3 separate regions of the Homo sapiens genome follow, and regions 1 and 3 are each linked to region 2. The links are contacts of gene promoters, found by promoter capture Hi-C in human tissues and cell types (Jung and others, 2019). All regions are on one chromosome and are shown on one strand. Each heading gives the region's core, a stretch centred on a gene start or on the middle of the fragment in contact. The rest is flanking DNA. Distances are from core to core; before and after follow the strand shown.

Region 1 (4,799 bases), core at 813-3,312, 88 kb before region 2:
ACCCTATGCTCTAGACGTGCCCAGCTATTGGCTATTCCTCAAAAATGGAGTGTTCTTTCAAAACTGTGCTTTTGTACATGTTGTTCCCTCTCCCTGGAATACACTTGACCCCCTTTCCTCCTGGCTAAATACCATTTGTCCTTCAAGACTCATCTCTGGGAAAACTGCCATGAACTTTCCCAGTTCAATTAAATGTCCTTTCTGTACTAACACCCTCATTGTGCTTAATTCCATCAAAAGCACTTCTTGCCTAGTATTAGGCTTCTTTGTTTCCTTGACTGTCTTCACTACTCTTATTTTTCTTGCATTACAAAAGATTGCCACAGTGCCCTGAACACGGTAAGCATTCAGTAAGCATTTATTGGATGAATGTGTACTTTGGCCCCTAGATGTAATCAACACATCTGTAGTAATGGAGGTGTGGTCAGCACAGTGTAGGGGAAAGTACATGGGATCTGAAGTCAGAAGATGCCAGTTCTGGGCTCTGACATTTCTAACTCTCTGATCTTAGTTTGGCCAGTTAATGTTTCTAAGACTTGGTTTCCTCATCTAAGAACATAAACCTAAAAGGGCTTGCTGAAGGGACTCAATGAGAGAAAGTGTCTGAAGTAACTGATACAGAGTTGGTGTTCCAAACAGGACATCTTTTGTTAGAGTGACTGGAACATCCTGTGCTATAGAATGCATTTGATGTACCCTGAAAGCAAACATGCTACTGACATGTGGTTACAAGTGGACTTTGTTTTTCATTTTTTATTTTATTTTATTTTTATAAAGGTGATACATATCGTGTTGTTTCAGAAAGCATGGTGATAAAAAAAAAAAAAATTCTTGCCCATGGCATTTCCCATAACCCCTATAAGTAATAGTTTCTTTTAGATATTCCTGTGTTTTCTTTTTAAAATAAATGCTAACATATAAAGATATATTATAGTCCCCTCTTTTTTACTATATATAAATACATGTGATATATTTACTATAAATACATATACACATATAAATGTATACACACACATATATAAATATACACATATATAATATAAATACACACATATATAAATACACACACACACACACACACACACACACAGAGACAGAGAGAGAAAGATATTCCATCTACATTATCAACATTCTGTTCTGAGTGCTGGTGTTTTTTCACTAAATATCTAAATGGACTTTATGAGCCTCTAAATTTGCCCAGAATGATTCTAATCAAGGAGACAAGTATGTGGAAGGAGGGATTTTATTTATTGCTTCACATCACAACTCTGAACTATCAGCAAGACGTAAAAGCTTTGACTCATAGCCTCAAGTCTTTCTAAAGGGAACCACAAAGAAACTGCATGACTAGAACAGTGAAAAACCAAGTTTGCCTTTTATATCAGGCCAGGGTCAAAGAAATTGCAACAGGGCTGAAAGGGCTGTGAAGATGTTATCTCCTTATACTGCCTTGAGATTAGAGGAATGCAGCAGAAAGCACAAACATGCAGTCTAGTAAGTCTTTAGCACTACCTGCTACCTGCTTTTTATCACATGAATGGCATGTTTTCCAGCGAGCCTTCACCTTTAAAGGACAATATTATTCTTAGAATTGTAAACAAGTTCCCTTTTAGGGTTGTGGCTCAGGTACAGAATAGGATTTGCACTTTTTAAAGCTATGTCTGTACGGAAAGCAAAAGCTAGTGGTATAAGGAGGTGATGTGGGCCTTGTAAGTAGTTATTATTCTTTCAACTTTGTTAATCACAGCAAATGATGAAGTTATAAGCACAAAGGTTTGGCAAAATGTAGGCATTAGAATAACAGACCTTCATTTCATTGACAAGTTTAATTATGGCCCAAGTTGCTCTTATCCTCTTTCCCTTTTTCTGATATTTTTACTCACCTAAGTCACTGGTCTGAGTTCTTAAACTCTCATATGAATGGCCCCAGTTTAATCACTGTGCTCCTCATTCCCAAATTCCTGCCACTTCCTCTACTGAAGTTCTCCACCTGGGTAGGGAAACAGACTAGTTAGGGGAAATCCAATGGGCTCATCAGCACAGGCAGCAAGTTCACCATCTCATGCTGTAAATTACCATCACCTTGACCCAATTTGTCACGCGCACACAGTGCAGAAAATTTATCAGAAAGATTAAGAATGGGCTGGTGAAGAGGACAAAAGAAACTCCCTGATGGCCTTTGGTATGGATGGAAGACAGGTCTGCATCTGACCACATAAGCCCAGAGAAGTGGGAGCCTGAGCTGGTTTTCTACACCATATAGGACACAACACTGCAAATCCAGCAGGCAAAGAAAAATAAGGGCAGGGATCTCTGGGAACCAGCAAGCAAAGGCACAGAATCCAGCAAGGTGAGCGGGGTGGGGAGGGTTACGAAGGCAAGCAGATGATGCCTGAGTCTAATAGATTGATGAGTGAGCTGGAGAAGGCCAGGTGGAGGAGGGGAGAGGGAACAAAACAGGCTGAGGCACTAAATCTCTGAGTCTTGAAATAACATAGGGCATTTTAATAACTCCACATAGTTCCGTGTGATTGGAGATGGAATGCCAGTGGGACAGGGCCAGGGTCATGGTGAAAAATTGGAGAGGTGGCCAGAGACAAATAACAAAGGTCCTTGAGAGGTCATACTATATATCTTGTATTTTAACCAGAAGGCACTACTGGGAGCTACTGCAGGATTTTAAGCAGGGAATAACAAGATCAGATTTAAGTTGTAGAAAAGTCACTCTCATACCTATGTAGATCATGGATTTGAGCACTGTGTCCATAGCACCTTCCATACCATAGTGCGTTAGGCATCTGTGTGTCTCCACACTAAGCTGTAACCTCAATGAGGGGAGGGAGCATGTCTGTTTCTCATTATTATATCTCTGGTACCTAGAACAATGCCAAGTTCATAGTCAGGAATGAACGAATGGTGTCCAATCTCATTCATCTTTTTCTCTCTAATGCTCACACAGTACTTAGTGCAATGTAGGTAATAGATAAAGGTCTGCTGAATAAATGAATAAATGCTAACTTCTGCCTCACTCTCCAGTTCCATCTCTCAACATTCCCCAACATTTGTCCTATAACAATAAAATTGTATAGCTTTCCCAGATGCACTGTATTGTTTGCCTTACATGTGCTATTCCCTCTGATTAGAATTCCCTACCCCTATCTCCTATCTATCTAGTGAATTTCAATTATGTCTCAACACTCAGCTTAGATTTGACCCACGGGGGAGAAGCTTTTTGTAATACCAGTACCTCCCATCACCATGTGCAGAAACACACATAGGCTCAAAATAAAGGGATGGAGGAAGATCTACCAAGCAAATGGAAAACAAAAAAAGGCAGGGGTTGCAATCCTAGTCTCTGATAAAACAGACTTTAAACCAACAAAATCAAAAGAGACAAAGAAGGCCATTACATAATGGTAAGGGATCAATTCAACAAGAAGAGCTAACTATCCTAAATCTGTATGCACCCAATACAGGAGCACCAAGATTCATAAAGCAAGTCCTTAGAAACCTACAAGGAGACTTAGACTCCCACACAATAATAATAGGACACTTTAACACCCCACTGTCAACATTAGACAGATCAACGAGACAGAAAGTTAACAAGGATATCCAGGAATTGAAGTCAGCTCTGCACCAAGCGGACCTAATAGACATCTACAGAACTCTCCACCCCAAAACAACAGAATATACATTCTTCTCAGAACCACACTGCACTTATTCCAAAATTGACCACATAGTTGGAAGTAAAGCACTCCTCAGCAAATGTAAAAGAACAGAAATTATAACAAACTGTCTCTCAGACCACAGTGCAAACTAGAACTCAAGATTAAGAAACTCACTCAAAACCGCTCACCTACATGGAAACTGAACTACCCACTCCTGAATGACTACTGGGTACATAACAAAATGAAGGCAGAAATAAAGATGTTCTTTGAAACCAGTTTGAGATCTGAGAATGGACAGACTGCCTCCTCAGGTGGGTCCCTGACCCCCGAGTAGCCTAACTGTGAGGCACCCCCCAGTAGGGGCAGACTGACACCTCACACGGCTGGGTACCCCTCTGAGACGAAGCTTCCAGAGGAACAATCAGGCAGGAACATTTGCTGTTCAGCAACATTCGCCGTTCTGCAGCCTCCGCTGCTGATACCCAGGCAAACAGCGTCTGGAGTGGACCTCCAGCAAACTCCAACAGACCTGCAGCTGAGGGTCCTGACTGTTAGAAGGAAAACTAACAAACAGAAAGGACATCCACACCAAAACCCCATCTGTACGTCACCATCATCAAACACCAAAGGTAGATAAAACCACAAAGATGGGAAAAAACAGAGCAGAAAAACTGGAAACTCTAAAAATCAGAGTGCCTCTCCTCCTCCAAAGGAATGCAGCTCCTCACCAGCAATGGAACAAAGCTGGATGGAGAATGACTTTGACGAGTTGAGAGAAGAAGTCTTCAGATGATCAAACTACTCCAAGCTAAAGGAGGAAGTTCGAACCCATGGCAAAGAAGTTAAAAACCTTGAAAAAAAATTAGACAAATGGCTAACTAGAATAACCAACGCAGAGAAGTCTTTAAAGGACCTGACGGAGCTGAAAACCAAGGCACGAGAACTACATGACGAATGCACAAGCCTCAGTAGCCGATTCGATCAACTGGAAGAAAGGGTATCAGTGATGGAAGATCAAATGAATGAAAAGAAGCAAGAAGTTTAGAGGAAAAAGAATAAAAAGAAACAAACAAAGCCTCCAAGAAATATGGGACTATGTGAAAAGACCAAATCTACTTCTGATTGGAGTAC
Region 2 (4,310 bases), core at 1,606-4,105:
TGCATCTCTGTGTCTGCAGCTCGGCTGCCTCGCTGAAGAAAAAGAGGATGGCAGATCTGTTCATACTTCTATATCAAGGTCATATACAGACAATTTCACCAACTAGAATATAAAAATATTATTACTAGTGATCTGAGTTATGTGCAACATTGGAATGGATGCCACTCATTCCCTTCTACTGACCTCCAAAATTCTATGCCAATTTACCATTAACTTTCTCTTTCTTTCTTCTCAATTATAAATTCTCCACCTTATTAAAAGACATGGCTCTGACAATTCCAAGTTTCAGCTGCCCACTATGTTCCCATCCACTTCATCTTTTAAATGTGTTTAAAGCATTAACAACAGATTGTGTTTCACCCTAGAGACAGCTGGGTTTCAAGGAGAGGTAAAATGTTTCATAATCTCACTCTATTGTCCAAGACAAATGTGCTATTGTATTACATGTGAAATGTCATCTTTGAAGTCTGGTAAGGGTGTGCTGTGAGGTGAGCCATCTGGAAAACACAGTGTAGACTGAAAAATAATTATAAGCCAGTTTATTACTTTTTTCCAGTTAAGCCTACCATGACAGCTGCTAAAAAAAACACTATGTAGTATAAAGGGTAAAAAGACTCTGAAGTCGCAAAAGTTATACCCACCTCCAACAATGATTAGCTAGTATACAAGTCACTCAAATTCTCTGATCCTTTTGGCTTGTCTGTAAAATTGAAATATGGACACATGCCACAGAGGAGTTTTATGAGTATTAAATGAAACAACAGCTGTAAAGCACTTCGTACAGAGTACACAATAAGTTTGATTTCTCTTCTCGTCTTCTAAATATAGACTATATAATATTCTTTATACAGAGAATATTAGATAAAATCCAATCATATTTGAAAACCAGGTTGAGCAGGTTGGTTTTTCAAAGAAATTCATTGAGCTTCCATAATGTCCTTTCTATTTGACGGGAGAAAAGGGGCTTTGGAAGATCAAGTGTGAAGCTTTAGAATTCTGTCTGGAGCTGGTTAGGACCACCCAGGCCTGAGTATAAGCAAAGCGCTGTCCGTGGTGCTAGTAAGCGCGAATGCCCCCGGCAACGTTTTCCCTACCCAAAGTTGTTTTTCATTCAGTCAACTTGCTTCGCGAAGCTCACACATCTGCCTCGTGCAAGATTCTCAGTCATTTTACTTAGTCATTGGTTCTTTCCCTATCACCATTCTTTATGTCCCCCTCAAAGAAAAACATTATCTTCCATTTCCTTATCAACTCCAAACAGCTTTCATTTTTCTGACATATTTACTACCTAAGAAAATGGCTCAAGAATTGGGTCAGACTATCTTGTCCTAACTTTTCTGATAAGTTTCAGAGAAACTCAAAGGTCAAAACAAGAGCATAAGAGTAAAAGGTAGAGAAATTAAGAAACTGAAGACTAGGAAATGGGGGTTGGATGGGAAAGAAAAAGAAATTGTTATTAATGCTACCCGGTTCCCTTCCCTGTCCAGGTGGATTTCAGCTCTGTTGAGGCTCTGTCAGTAGATTTTCAGCCCTAACCAGCACTTCCATGGTGGTGGCACTTCCACTGCCTTTAAAAGAAAGAGCTTTTTTTAATTCTACAGGGATTTGGGGGATGAGGAGTCAGAGCTAAGGTATCCTAAAAAAAACATGTGAAGACTCTCATTTTGCAATACACAAGCAATTGCCCTCCTGTTAAGACTTTGTCTTCCTCAGCACTCCGAACCAAAATGATTCTGTAAACAAAAATTGTTCACTTTTAGGAGAGGTCCACTTATGCAGTTCCTCACCAAAGTTTTTAGGCAACAAATCCATAACTTGCGGTTCTCTTCCTATCCAATGTAGCATCCGCTGAAATGTTTTAAATATTTTAAGTAATAAATGTTGATTCAAACTCACCTAGGAAGATTAGGAAGGGGAAAAAAAGCACTTGGCATTTAAATCTTCAGAAGAGAATTTAATGACAGGTTCAGCCTGTTTAATGACAAGCCCAGCACCACACCCCTCTCTTATGATGTTTCATTATTACTGCATAAATTTCCTTTATTACTCATGATAAATAAAAATAAGATACCTGACAAAGTGGGTTTAAATAGGTAAGAGTGCAAACAAAGATTTACTGTACAAATATGATGAAACTGGGATCTCAGATTCTTAAAGTATAATTTTTTTTTGTCTTATGTGTGCCAGGTTGCCACTCTCAATCTCGAACTAGTTTTTTTCTCTTTTAAGGGTTGTATCCATAATGCAAAAATGGAAAGAATTAAAAAGCACACGCAAAACATGATTCTCGGGATTTTTCTCTATTTTTATGGTTGACTAATTCAAACAGAAAGACACATCCAAGAGAAAATTGCTAAGTTTGATACAAGTTATGAAACTTGTGAAGCCCAAGTACTGCCTGGGGATGAATTTAACTTGTATGACAGGTGCAGAGCTGTCGCTTTCAGACATCTTAAGAAACACGGAGTTATTTTGAATGACTTTCTCTCGGTCACAAGGGAGCCACCAACGTCTCCACAGTGAAACCAACTGGCTGGCTGAAGGAACAGAAATCCTCTGCTCCGCCTACTGGGGATTAGGAGCTGAGGGCAGTGGTGAACATTCCCAAAATATTAGCCTTGGCTTTACTGGACATCCAGCGAGCAGTGCAGCCAGCATTCCTGGCGGCTCCCTGGCCCAGTCTCTGGCGCATGCGTCCTAGCATCTTTGGGCAGGCTTCCCCGCCCTCGTGACGCGTCGGCCCGGGCCTGGCCTCCCGGCGATCACAGCGGACAGGGGGCGGAGCCTAAGGGGGTGGGGAGACGCCGGCCCCTTGGCCCAGCTGAAAACGGAATTCTTTGCCGGCTGGCTCCCCACTCTGCCAGAGCGAGGCGGGGCAGTGAGGACTCCGCGACGCGTCCGCACCCTGCGGCCAGAGCGGCTTTGAGCTCGGCTGCGTCCGCGCTAGGCGCTTTTTCCCAGAAGCAATCCAGGCGCGCCCGCTGGTTCTTGAGCGCCAGGAAAAGCCCGGAGCTAACGACCGGCCGCTCGGCCACTGCACGGGGCCCCAAGCCGCAGAAGGACGACGGGAGGGTAATGAAGCTGAGCCCAGGTCTCCTAGGAAGGAGAGAGTGCGCCGGAGCAGCGTGGGAAAGAAGGGAAGAGTGTCGTTAAGTTTACGGCCAACGGTGGATTATCCGGGCCGCTGCGCGTCTGGGGGCTGCGGAATGCGCGAGGAGAACAAGGGCATGCCCAGTGGGGGCGGCAGCGATGAGGGTCTGGCCAGCGCCGCGGCGCGGGGACTAGTGGAGAAGGTGCGACAGCTCCTGGAAGCCGGCGCGGATCCCAACGGAGTCAACCGTTTCGGGAGGCGCGCGATCCAGGTAGCTGGGGCCCCAGGGCCTCGCCGGCAGGGGGCGCGCGAACGCGGGGCGCGGCCTCGGCGGATCGGGGCTGGAACCTAGATCGCCGATGTAGATTTGTACAGGAGTCTCCGTTGGCCGGAGGTGTGCATTCCACGCGTAAAACAGGCTTTTACCCAGCAAAAATCCTAAAGAGAGACATTGAAAAACCCACTGTTTAAGCTTTTTTTAGTGGTTTTTGTTCTGCCATCTCATGATCAGAGATGCAAGGAATAGACTGAATTGGGGAGAAAAGGAGAAAAGGAAAGCTTATTTAGGGAAGAAGATTATCTTGTCTGTCTGCTTTCAACGATAAAGATAAGTAAAGTATAAGTTACGCATTCTAGATTGGATTTAAGGAATTCTACAAAATCATAGTACATGGAAAAAATCAATGTAAACTTCTAAGCTACTATATGAAATCTGTTGTATTGTTTTCTCATAGAGGTTAATTGAGAATGAGACGGGATTCCTCAACCACAGTACTTAGTTCCTTTTATGTTAGCAGTGTCTTATGAGTGATGCATAAGAGAAAAAATATATAGTTCTATAGGTTTCTCATTCTTTAATTATCATACTCAGTGCCCAGATTACAAAAATATTCCTGCAGCAACTGTTAGGTCCTTTTTGAATGGCAAAGGATCTTCATAAATAATGCATCTTTATCTTCATTGTTAAAATACACTTATTCAATGTTTAAGTACGAATCCTGCTTTAATTAGTACTGATATTTTTTATTTCTTTTACAATCTCGGACAACTCTTTTGTACTTTACCGTTGGCTAGTGGTCATATTCAGTACTCACCTCACTATCACCCTCTAAAACTAAGCTAATATTAAGGGATCTTGTTAATAGTATAGATTTTAAAGAAGTGTTCATTTCTTTTGAATTCTTAGAATAATGGTATAACAAATGAGGGATTTTTAAAG
Region 3 (4,309 bases), core at 851-3,350, 120 kb after region 2:
CATTGATTTTGTACCCTAAAATGTTGCTGAAGTTTTTTTTTTTAATCAGATGCAGGAGGCTTTGGACAGACACTATGGAGTTTTCTTTTATATATATATATTTTTTAATTACACTTTGAGTTCTAGGGTACATGTGCACAACGTGCAGGTTTGTTACATATGTATACATGTGCCATATTGGTGTGCTGCACCCATTAACTCGTCATTTACATTAGGTATAACTCCTAATGGTATCCCTCCCCCACCCCCCACCCCACAACAGGCCCCAGTGTGTGATGTTCCCCTTCCTGTGTCCAAGTGTTCTCATTGTTCAATTCCCACCTATGAGTGAGAACATGCAGTGTTCACTATGGAGTCTTCTAGGTACAAAATCATGTTTGTGAAGAGAGATAGTTGACTTCTTTTTTTTCTATTTGGAAACCTTTATTTCTTTCACTTGCCTTATTGCTCTGGCTAGGACGTCCAGTACTATGTTGATTAGGAGTGGTGAGAGTGGGCATCTTGGTCTTGTTTCAGTTCTCACGGGGAATGCTTCCAGCTTTTGCCTGTTGAGTATGATGTTAGCTGTGGGCTTGTCAAAGATGGCTCTTATTATTTTGAAGTATGCTACTTCAATACCTAGTTTTTTTTTTTTTTTTTTTAACATGAAAGGATGTTGAATTTTATCAAAAGTCTTTTCTGCATTTATTGAAATGATAATGTGGTATTTGTTTTTTGCTTTGCTTTTGTGACAAATCATATTTATTGATTTGTGTACATTGAACCAACCTTGCAGAACAAGAATAAAGGCTACTTGATCATGGTGGATTAGCTTTTTGATACAATGCTGGATTTCGTTTGCTAGCATTTTGTTGAGTATTTTTGTATACATGTTCACCAGGAATGTTGGCCAGAATTTCTGTGTGTGTGTGTGTGTGTGTGTGTGTATCAGAATGATGCTAGCCTTATAGAATAAGTTAGAGAGGAGTCCCTCCTCCTTTGATTTTTTTTTTTTTGAATAGTTTCAGTAGGATTGGTAATACCTTTTGTTTTTTACATATGGTAGAATTCAGCTGTGAATCCATCTAATCTAAGGCTTTTTCTGTTTGACAGGTTTTTGTTACTGATTCAATTTTGGAACTCATTAATGGTCTGTTCAGGGTTTCAATTTTTTCCAGGTTTAATCTTGAGAGGTTGTACGTTTCCCAGAATTTATCCATTCCTTCTAGGTTTTCTAGTTTATGTGCACAGAAGTGTTCATTTAGTCTTTGAGGGTTTTTTATATTTCTGTGGGGTTGATGGTAATGTCCCTTTGGTCATTTCCGATTGTCTTTATTTAGATCTTCTCTCTTTTTTTGTAAGTCTAGCAAGCACTCTTTCAATCTTATTTATTTTTTCAGAAAACCAACGTTTGGTTTCATTGATGTTTGAAAACAATTGTATGTATTTTGCACATTAACTTTGTTAAGTTCTGATTTTGGTTATTTCTTTTCTCCTTCTATCTTTTGGGTTGGTTTGCTCTTGTTTTTCTACATCCTCTTGGTATAATGTTAGATTGTTTATTTGAGATTATTTGTGTTTTTGTTTTTGTACCAGTGCTGATATGGTTTGGATCTGTGTTCCCACCCAAACCTCACCTTGAATTGTAATCCCCATGATCCCCATGTGTCAAGGGCAGGACCAGGTGGAGGTAATTGGATTGGCAATTTTAATGTCAGCATTTAGCACTGTACATTTTCCTCTTAACACTGCTTTCACCATGTCCCAGAGATTCTGGTATGTTGTACTTTTGTTTTCATTATTTTCAAAGAATTTCTTGATTTCTGCCTTAATTTCATTGCTTAGCCAAAAGCCATTAAGGAGAAGGTTGTTTAATTTCCATGTAATTGTATAATTTTGAAATATCTTTTCACTATTGATTTCTATTTTCATTGCACTGTGGTCCGAGAGTGTAGGTTGGTATGATTTTATTTTTGAATTTGTTGAGAATTGCTTTATGGTCAAGATGTGGTTCATTTTAGTCTATATGCCATGTGCAGATGAGAAGAATGTATATTCTGTTGTTGTTGGGTGGAGTGTGCTGCAGATGTCTGTCAGGTCCATTTGTTCAAGTGTCAAGTTTAGGTCCTGAATATCTTTGTTAATTCTCTGCCTCAATGATCTGTCTAACACTGTCAGTGGGGTGTTTTAGTGTCCCACTATTATTTTGTGGGAATCTAAGTCTCTTTGTGGAATCAAGGTCTTTAAGAACTTGTCTTATAAATCTGAGTGCTTCAGTATTGGCTGCATATATATTTAGGATAATTAAGTCTTCCTGTGGAATTAAACCCTTTATCATTATATAATGCCCTTGTCTTTTTTTATCATTGTTGGTTTAAGGTCTGTTTTGTCTGAAATAAGAATAGCAACCCCTACTCTTCTCTCTGTTTTTCCTTTGCTTGGTAGATTTTTCTCCATCCCTTTATTTTGAGCCTATGGGTGTCACTGCATATGAGATGGGTATCTTGAAGATAGCATAGAGTTGAGTCTTGCTTCTTTATCCAAATTGCCACTGTGTGCCTTTTAAGTGGGGCATTTAACCCATTTATACTCAAGGTTAATATTACTATGTGCAGATTTGTTCCTGTCATTGTATTGTTAGCTGGTGGCTATGCAAACTTGATTGTGTAGTTGCTTTATAATGTAAACAGTCTATATACTTAAGTGTGTTTTTATGGTGGCTGGTAACAGTCTTTTGATTCTGCATTTAGCACTTCCTTTAGGACTTGTATGGTAAGTCTGATGGTAACAAATTCCCTTAGCATTTGCTTTTCTGAAAAAGATTTTATTTCTCGTTTTCTTATGAAGCTTAGTTTGGCTGGATAAAATTCTTGGTTAAAATTTCTTTTCTTTAAGAATGTTGAATATAGGCCACATTCTCTTCTGGCTTACAGTGTTTCTGCTGAAAGGTCCATTGTTAGCCTGATGGGGGTCCCTTTGTCAGTGACCTTCCTATTCTCTCTAGCTGCTTTTAGTATTTTTTTCTTTTGTGTTGACGCTGGAGAATCTGATAACTATGTGTCTTGGGGATGGTCATTTTGTATAGTATCTTACAGGGTTTCTCTAAATTTCCTGCATTTGAATATTCGCCTCTCTAGCAAGGCTGGGGAAACTTTTGTGCACAGTCTCATTAAATATATTTTACAAGTTCCTTGCTCTTGCTCCCTTTCTGCCAGGGATGTCAGTCATTCATAGGTTTGGTCCCTTTATATAACCCCACATTTCTTGGAGGTTTTGTTCATTCTTTTTTATTTTTGTCTGAGTTGATTTGAAGAACTGGTCTTCAAGCTCTGAGTTTATTTCCATAGCTTGGTTTATTCTGCTGTTAATCCTGATGGTATTATGGAATTTTTGTAGTGAGTTTTTCAGCTCTATCAGATAAGTCTGTTTCTTTCTTAAAATGGCTATTTTGATCTTTTAGCTCTTGTATCATTTTACTGTATTCCTTAGATTCCTTGGAGTAGGTATCACCTTTCTCCTGAATCTCAATGATATTCATTGCCATCCAGATTCTGAATTCAATGTTTGTCATTTCAGCCATTTCAGCCTGGTTAAGAAACATTGCAAGGGATCTAGTGTGGTCATTTTGAGGTAAGAAGACACTTTGGCTTTTTGAATTTCCATTGTTTTTCTTCTGGTTCTTTTTCATCTGTGTGGCTTGATGTTTCTTGAATCTTCGAACTTACTGCCTTTTGGTTGGGAATTTTTGCTTTTATATTTGTTGGTTCCCTTGATGGTTTGACTATGGCCAGATAACCTTCTTTCAATTATGCTAGAACAGTTGTTCTCAAACTACGGTTCCTAGACCAGCAACATCAAAGTCTCACGGCAACTATCAGAAATGCAAAATATTGGGGAAAATCGTGGCTACAAAGCAGGACTAACTTGCAGCTCCCACTTGGACGAACAGAACAGTATGTGGAGGCTTACATCATAAACTTTTGCTCCAAGAACGACCACAAGAATGTACCAGGAAAACTGAAATAATTCACAGACCTTTTGAAGGAAACAGCTTGCCACTGCAAGCTCTGTGAGACAGCCAAAAAACTGGGAGTGCCCAAAGTGTCAGGGGGAAGGTCCATCTCCAAACACACATCCTCACTGGGGAACCTGAAAATTCAGATCACAGAAGAAGGATTTAACCTTACCTAGAGTTGAAATGAATTTAGAGAGCCCAGCAAAATGTAAAGGTAGAAGAAGCAGCAGTAAGAGCCCTGTGGACACTCCTGATCCCCAGGGAAGCCATTTCTGACTTTTTCTCACAAGGGTCCTTGGGGAGGGCTGCCAGTGG

Evidence for each region. Contacts are between HindIII fragments. The study calls those that stand out against the background at their distance.
Region 1: a fragment that was not itself captured here is called in contact with the fragment with the promoter of CDKN2B in region 2 in 3 of the 25 tissues and cell types used here (H1 embryonic stem cells, mesenchymal stem cells and mesendoderm cells).
Region 3: a contact is called between a fragment that was not itself captured here and the fragment with the promoter of CDKN2B in region 2, in 3 of the 25 tissues and cell types used here (bladder, lymphoblastoid cells and thymus).

Annotation. Positions count from the first base shown.
Region 1 is chr9:22,094,449-22,099,247 of GRCh38, reverse strand. It overlaps CDKN2B-AS1 (CDKN2B and CDKN2A antisense cis and trans regulatory RNA 1), which reads right to left. Exons shown (of 19, transcript NR_003529.4): 13 at 2,734-2,876; 14 at 1,884-1,990. Among named protein-coding and RNA genes, the nearest start is that of CDKN2B, 88 kb to the right of the region's middle. The HindIII fragment of the contact is 5,121 bases long and covers 1-4,622 here.
Region 2 is chr9:22,007,850-22,012,159 of GRCh38, reverse strand. It overlaps CDKN2B (cyclin dependent kinase inhibitor 2B), which reads left to right and starts at 2,855. Exons shown (of 2, transcript NM_004936.4): 1 at 2,855-3,362. The coding sequence starts at 3,207. All of the region lies in intron 1 of CDKN2B-AS1 (CDKN2B and CDKN2A antisense cis and trans regulatory RNA 1), which reads right to left. It also overlaps the pseudogene UBA52P6. RefSeq lists silencers at 896-1,190, 3,314-3,513. The HindIII fragment of the contact is 12,658 bases long and covers 1-4,310 here.
Region 3 is chr9:21,890,544-21,894,852 of GRCh38, reverse strand. It overlaps a transcript of MTAP not described here. Among named protein-coding and RNA genes, the nearest start is that of CDKN2A-AS1, 74 kb to the left of the region's middle. The HindIII fragment of the contact is 3,541 bases long and covers 330-3,870 here.